Regions from separate parts of the Homo sapiens genome. Here region 2 is linked to region 1. The links are contacts of gene promoters, found by promoter capture Hi-C in human tissues and cell types (Jung and others, 2019). All regions are on one chromosome and are shown on one strand. Each heading gives the region's core, a stretch centred on a gene start or on the middle of the fragment in contact. The rest is flanking DNA. Distances are from core to core; before and after follow the strand shown.

What was found. The method cuts DNA at HindIII sites, captures the fragments that hold promoters and counts their contacts. A contact is called where the count stands out against the background at its distance.
Region 2: a fragment that was not itself captured here is called in contact with the fragment with the promoter of TUBA8 in region 1 in 1 of the 25 tissues and cell types used here (spleen).

The regions. Positions count from the first base shown.
Region 1 is chr22:18,108,895-18,112,607 of GRCh38, forward strand. TUBA8 (tubulin alpha 8) reads left to right here and starts at 1,915. Exons shown (of 5, transcript NM_018943.3): 1 at 1,915-1,974. The coding sequence starts at 1,972. RefSeq lists an enhancer at 1,412-1,611 and a silencer at 1,692-2,081. The HindIII fragment of the contact is 17,974 bases long and covers 1-3,713 here.
Region 2 is chr22:17,384,342-17,388,420 of GRCh38, forward strand. All of the region lies in intron 1 of CECR2 (CECR2 histone acetyl-lysine reader), which reads left to right. Among named protein-coding and RNA genes, the nearest start is that of CECR2, 17 kb to the left of the region's middle. The HindIII fragment of the contact is 3,728 bases long and covers 551-4,079 here.

The DNA of each region.
Region 1 (3,713 bases), core at 665-3,164:
GCTTGAACCCAGGAGGCGAGGTTGCAGTGAGCTCAGATCGCACCACTGCACTCCAGCCTGGGCAACAGAGCGAGACTTTGTCTCAAAAAAAAAAAAAAAAGAAAAAGAAAGTGATAAATACTATGGGGCTGGGCGCGATGGCTCACGCCTGTAATCCCAGCACTTTGGGAGGCCAAGATGGGTGGATCACAAGGTCAGGAGATTGAGACCATCCTGGGTAACACGGTGAAACCCCGTCTCTACTAAAAATACAAAAAATTAGCCGAGCGTGGTGGCACGCGCCTGTAGTCCCAGCTACTCGGGAGGCTGAGGCAGGAGAATCACTTGAACCCGGGAGGCGGAGGTTGCAGTGAGCCTAGATCACACCACCGCACTCCAGCCTGGGCGACAGAGCAAGACTCCATCAAAAAAAATAAAAAATAAAAGAAATGCTATGGAAGAAGTAATAGAATATGCTATGGGAGAGTTTGGAAGAGAAATACACATAGAGTTATACTAATAACCAAAATCCTTTATTGACCATTTATCATGTGCTTGGCACAATTAGCTTAATCCTGAGTCTTAATTGTCAGGATCTTACATTATAAGATAGACAAAAATTCAACGCATGCTTTACTAAGTACCGTTTGTATCAGTGGGTAAAGCACTGTGTTTGGTACTCTCTCAAATGCAAAGATGATTACGACACATGTACTATCGTTTATGAATGGGTGGCCAACAGAACAGATTGCCGCATAGGTAAGCAGAAATCTGCTCTCATTCTCTATTGGCCACAAGCAGGCATGTCTTAGGAGCAGAAGGGTAGGAAGATCTCTAACTGTGCTTGGAAACTTGGGGAGTTACCACGTCTGGCTAAAGTGGTATTGTCTTAAGGAAAACCTATGAATTTGCCTGCGTTGGCTTGGTGCTGAGGAAAGTGGAAGAGAGAGGCTGGGGTACACCTTTCAACATGAATGGAACTGACCACTGGAGGGAAAGAACAAGAAACAGCAGTGAGAACAAGGAACAAAGACCATCCAGCCCCTCACCCACCTGGGGGGAAGTGAGGGGAGATGGGCAGGGTGACAACGTGGCCAACATCTAAAGTGTGAAGAGGGGCTTTTACCAAGTGCCCACCCCTTCCCGAGCAGGGGGCAACCAACAGCATCTGGCGGGTCTTACTACTGGGCAGAGGCAGGGGAACCCTGGTATGAGTTCTGGATTACATAGGAGATGTGACTTGGACACGTTTGGGGCTTAAAAGTAGGAAGGGATCAAGGGGGGAGATTTGAAAATCCCGGTGGAGGTGCGAGGTATCCGGGGAGAGGGTAAAAACGGGAACAGTCTTCAGCACCTGCCTGTACCAGGAGCTCTGTGTATGCCATCTCATTTCCGTCTCCAGCAACCAGGCGGGCCTTGGCGGCAGGAGGCACAGGCTTTGGGAGCAGAGGCCCTGCAGCTTGCCAAGCACACACGGCCCTAGGGCGCCCAGCTGAGACGGCACCTTGGCACCCGGGCCCGCTGCAGCCCGCTCCGGTCAGCTGCACCCCAGTCAGGAGCCTTTCCAGCGGGTCGGAGGAGAACGGAAGTTTGGGGAGACCCGCGCGATTCGCCTGGCTGCATTTTACATTTCTTTCTCCGGCAGCTGGGGTCACGAAGGCTGCTCTCGCCGGCGGTGTTGGAACGTGGACACGTGCGCTTTGGTAATAGGGCAGCCTCCCCCGCGGGCGCAGTCCCCGCTGCGAGCGCCCCCGGCTGCTGAGGCGGGACCGAGGACCCGGAGATTTGAGCCGCGGGTGGGCGGGGAGGGGCCTTTGTGACCTGCCCGCCCCTCCCCGGCACTGTGATGCCGGGGGGCAGCTGCGGGCCCGGCGCGCCTGTCCCCGGCGTCCCCCCCTCCCGGTGTGTCACAACGGCGGAGGCGGCTGTATCTGGAGCAGTCGGGGCGGGCAGGCCCAGCTGAGAGGTGCGCGGGCGAGGACAGCGGCAGCGATGGTGAGGCTTCCCGGGGCCAGGCGGGCTGCGGGCGCGCGGCAGGCGTAGGACCGAGAGCCGAGTCTACGCGGAGGCGCACGGACCCGTCTTCCTGGAGCCGCAGGGCTCAAGGCCTTCTGGGGGTGGCAGTTCAGGGTCGAGGAGTCCGCACCCTCGGGCGGGAACACCCGGTGCCCTTTATCGTATGGGGGAAATAGAGACCAGGGGCCAGTTGTTCCTTAAAGGGACCTAAGGGAGCTTTGCGTGCAGACGAGGGGGAGGGAGGCCCTGGGGAGCCCGACGGAGAAGGGGGCGAGATTCTGGGGTCCCCAGATGGGCAGCCTGTGGACAGAGTGGAGAGAAGGGCGAGTCCGGGGATTCTGGATGGGTGGTCTGGGCCGGGGCGACTGGGGGGCCAGATGCAGTCACGTCTCCGAACCCAGCCTAATGTGACAGGGCCCGGAATGTGACAGAGGACCTAGGGCGCCACGGTCCCCCCACGCGTGGAGGTCTTTCTCGCAAGCCTGGCCAGCGGCTTGGGTTTGCTGCACGCACAGCCCCAGCGCGGCGGGGTCCTCCGGGCGCACTCAGCAGCTCCCAAGTCTTTCCAGCGGTCAGAGTCGAAGGACTTTGGGAGTAAGAAGTCTCTGCTTCCAAAGGCCAGGGGACCTTCGACCTGTTTCCTACCCTGGCTTAGGGGGATCGCGGCTGCTCCCTTCCCTGCCCCCGCCCCTGGATCTTACTGAGGGGCGGCTGCAAACACTCAGTTCCTCTTTCTAGGGTCCCCCTCTCCGCCCCCAGTGCCCCTGGTGGTTAACATTTGCCCCCAGTCCACTTTCCCAAAGCCCAGAATCCCAGGAATCCCTCCTGGACCCCTGATCTTTCAGCAGTAGGGAGATGGGCTGGAAAGATTGGGGGCAGAGTGAGGGCAGAATAAGCCTATGTCATGGCCAAGGTCGGGTTCCCTGGGCAGGCTTGCTCCAGGTGTCAGTGATCCAGAAAGCAGGCGAGAACCCCCTCCGCCCCGCCCTGTTACGTTTGGCCCGTGCCCAGGGCCTCCTGGCTCCCCCGGAGCTCTAGCCTTCCAGCTTCAGTTTTGTCAGCACCCTCCCTCCTCCTAGCGGGCTCCCAGACACCCCTGGGAACTGAAAGAACTTGGGAATATTAGGGAGGGTGGCCACAGGAACCTATTTCTGCCTGAGGACCCTGGTATGAGGCCACACAAAGGGCCCGGAGCTGCCAGTTCAGAATTTTGACTCCTGGCTCTGCAGCTAGCTGTGTGACTTCAGGAAGGTCACTTAACCTCTCTGGATGTGTTTGTTTTACCTGCGAAATGAAGAGGGTTATAATTCAAATTTCCAAGACTCCACTTAGATTTCATTATTTTTAAACTTTTTATGGTAGGGAATTTCAAACATATGCAAACGGAGAGCAAATGGTATAATTAGCGATTATATACATCATCTAAGTTCAATAATTACCAACTTCTGACCTGTCTCACTTCATTTATTCCCTCCCTCCATAATTTTGAAGCAAATGCTAGGCTGCATACTCTAGAATTGATATTTAATATTTATAATATCTAGCAGGTAGCTAGTGTTTTAGGATTTTCCAAGTGCTTCCCTTGCATGCTTTAATTTGGATCTGAATGCCATTGTGGTACAGAGTGGAGCCCAGAGGATGTTTACAGGGGCGTGTCGAGGATCTTAACCCAGCCCTGTGCACAAGCTTGAATGTGTGATCCACAGACGTGTTTCTGA
Region 2 (4,079 bases), core at 1,165-3,664, 720 kb before region 1:
CTAAAGTGTTAGGATTACAGGTGTGAGCCACTGCTCCCAGCCACAAAATGTATTTCTTAAATAATAAGACTTGAAAGTTGAAATTACTTCTTGATCCATGGGCTTGCAGAATGGATGTTGTGTCAGCAGACATGAAAACCACATTAATCTCCTTGTATATCTCCATCAGAGCTCTTGGGTGACAAAGTATATTGTCAGTTAGCAGTAATATTTTGAAAGTAGTGACTTTTTTCTGAGCAGTAGGTCTCAAAAGTAGGCTTAAAATACTGACTAAACCATGCTGTAAACAGATGTGCTGTTATCCAGGTTTTGTTTTCCCATTTAGAGAGCACAGGCAGAATACATTAGCACAGTTTTCAAGGGCCGTAGGATTTTCAGAATGGTGAGTGAGCACTGGCTTCCAGTAAGTCACCAGCCCCTAAGAGAATCAGCCTGTCCTTTGAAGCTTTGAAGTGGGGCATTGACTTCTCCTCTCTAGCTATTAAAGTCCTAGGTGGCATTTTCTTTCAATAAAAGGCTGTTTCACCTACAGTGAAAATCTGTTGTGTATTCATCCTCGTTAATGATCTTAGCTAGATCTTCTGGATAACTTGCTGCAGCTTCTGTATCCACACTTGAGGCCTTGTCTTGCATGTTTACGTTACATTTCCTAAAGCTTCACGAACCAACCTCTGCTAGCCTCCAACTTTTCTTCTGCAGTTTCCTCACCTTTCTAAGCCTTCGTAGAATTGAAGCGTAAGGGCCTTGCTCTGGATTAGGCTTTGGCTTCAGGGAATGTTGTGGCTGCTTTGATCTGTTCTCCAGGCCACTCAGACTTTCTCCTTATCAGTAATAAGGCTGTTTTGCCTTCTCATTACTGTGTTCACTGGAGCAGTGCTTTTTATTTCCTTCAATAACTTTTCCTTTGCATTCACAACTTGGCTAACTGGCTCAAGAGGCCTAGCTTTTGGCCTGTTTCAGCTTTCAGCACGCCTTCTTCATGAAGCTTAATCATTTCTAGCTTTTGATTTAAAGTGAGAGACATGGTGCTCTTCCTTACACTTGAACACTTAAAGGCCATTGTAGGATTATTAATTGGCCTGGTTTAAATGTGCTTCTGGGAATAGGGAAGCCCAAGGAGAGGGAGACAGGGAACTGGCCAGTCTGTGGAGCAGACAGAACACACGCATTTATCAATTGAGTTTGCTGTTTTATGTGGGCACAATCCTTGGTGCCCCAAAACATTTACAGTTGTAATATCCAAGATCACTAGTCACAGATCAACATAACAGATTTAATAATAATCATGAAAATGTTTGAAATATTGTGAGAATTACCAAAATGCAACACAGAGACATGAAGTGAGCACATACTGTTGGAAAAATGGCCCTGATAGACTTGCTACTCGCAGGGTCGGCACGAAATCTTCAGTTTGTAAGAAATGCAATATCTGCACGTTCAGTAAAGGGAAACACAGTACAACGAGGTGGGCCTGTATTAGAGCGGAAGGGGCATGAACCGCTGATGGTAGTGGTAACAGGAAAGGACATTTCTCACTGGTGCTATTGAAGAAAGAGTAGGTGGGACTGGATGACCCCCAGGGTGGGAGCATGTGATGAAGGTTGCGTCGCTTAGGATATTTTTGGCTGCGAATGATGGAATAACAGTGCCTTCAGCACTGCGGATTACCCTACATCATGTAAGCCGGAGGAATGGGGCTCCTGGCAGGCCAGGCAGCCCCATGGTAGGTGTCATTGAGCCCTCATACGGTGGTACCACTCATGGTCACAGGACAGACTCCGCAGCGACAAGGTCTGCATTGCTGAATGATGCAGAGAAGTATTAGGAAAATGACAACGGAAAAGAGCCTTTGAGTTGGTGATTTGAAGGGGTCAAAGATGACTTCGGAGAAGGGATTTGAGTTACTCTGACCGGAGAGGGAGAGGCTGAGACTTAAAAAAACTTCATTCTGCTGGAAGGAGAGAGGATAAGACCTGTCAAACAGAGAAGCTTAAGAGCATGGTGAGAAAGGAAGGGCGTTTTAAAAAAAAACTTTTTTCACAAAGAATATATAGCGATTGTAACAAGAAGAAGTTAAATTAATCTCAGTTCCTTCATTTGGTGTTGTATTGAAGAGGTCAGTTGTAGGGCCCCCTTTCTCAGCCTGTTTCCAAACTCTGCGCCATGTTTTATACCAGTAATCAATCCCCTTCTTTGTGCCACCGCTCTCTAATTGTTGGGATGTGGTTATGTCACCCTAGGACTGTCAGTTGCTCAGTATTTTAGCTTTCTGTTGAGTAAAATGGAAATGAAAATCCAGCCACAGAAATGTGCCTTTTTTTTTTTTTTTGAGACGGAGTTTCACTCTTGTCCAGGCTCGAGTGCAATGGCGGGATCTCAGCTCACTGCAACCTCCACCTCCTGGGTTCAAGCCATTGCCCTGTCTCAGCCTCCCAAGTAGCTGGGATTACAGGCGCATGCCACCACGCCCAGCTAATTTTTGTAATTGTAGTAGAGACAGGGTTTCATCATATTGGTCAGGCTGGTCTCGAACTCCTGAACTCAGGTGATCCACCCGCCTCAGCCTCCTACAGTGCTGGGATTACAGGTGTGAGCCACTGTACCTGGTCAGAGATGTGCCTTTCTTTCATTAGAATTTTAGATTTATTCTTGTTTGACTGTTGATTGTTTGGAATACTTCAGTTTTTAGTTTCTCTCTGTTACATGTTTAATGTTTTGTAGGACTACTAAATGTTACTTTGTGATCCTTTTGTAATGATAATTTGTATACAAATAAGCTATTCAGGTATTTATGTTCTGTGTTATGTTTAATAACAGGTTCCCCATGCCAGAGGGAGTTACAGCTCAACAGAAAGCCTTCTTTTGTCTCATTTCTCCACTGGTTCTACAGAAATTTTCAGAGGTTATCTGGCAGCTGTACCTGCCCCTCCTTGCCCTTGTCAAGCAAATCTATATCTTGGCCAGTAATCTATAACACATCTCGCAAGAAAAGATGAACTGGGCCAATGAAATTTCCATTCTTGGGAGCGTAACCTAGGAAATACAAGGATTATCGAGTTAGCGTGGAAAAGAAGCTGAAAGGTCATGGTGAGCAGCCACGACACAGCCAGAATCTTACAGATGAGGAAGCAAGCCTGGGAGAGACCCAGCCATAGAGGAATTAACGAGAAGGCCCCGGCTCCAGCCTGCTGGCGTGTGTCCAGCAGGAGCCACCACACCTGAGGGAGTCTTCCATGCCCTGCCCCTCAAAGAGCCTAACACTTCCTCACTTTTGTCTGTGTGCACATAACATGTTAAGTATCTTGTAAACACAAGATCGTACTTTTCTATATGCTTCTGAATCCTGTTCTATTCTGTTGACAGTGTTATATAACAGAATGCCCTTTCAATCACAGCACGCCATGATTTCCAGTAGCTGCAGAATACTCATCGGGTAGAGGGACTCTCATTTAGCCAAGGGGCGTTTGGGTTATCTGTAGTTGTTTACTATCATGACAACCAAGAACCAGAACAATTTTTTTTTCTAAGATAGGATTAGTGTTTTTAATCATTAGACTTCTGTTAGTATTACATTCTATATTTGAGGTTTTAAGTTTTGAGTTTTTTTTTTGTTTGTTTTTTGTTTTGTCCCGAGAGGGAGTCTGTCTCTGTCGCCCAGGCTGGAGTGCAGTGGTGCCATCTGGGCTCGCTGTAACCTCTGCCTCCCAGGTTCAAGTAATTCTCCTGCTTCAGCCTCCCAAGTAGCTGGAACTACAGGCACGCTCCACCATGCCTGGCTGATGTTTATATTTTTAGTAGAGACGGGTTTCACCAAGTTGGCCAGGCTGGTCTCAAACTCCTGACCTCAGGTGATCCGCCCGCCTCAGCCTCCCAACGTGCTGGGATTACAGGCATGAGCCACCGCGCCTGGCCAAGTTTTCTTCATAGTTACTTTTTGTTTTATATTTTATCATAAAAGTTACATGAATTTTGGTGCCATGCACTGTCTCAAGTGTTTCTCATGCCCGAACTGACCCATCTGTTTAATTCCCCCATGAGGCAGGCATCACCATGACAGCACTGTAGGAAACAGGCTCAGA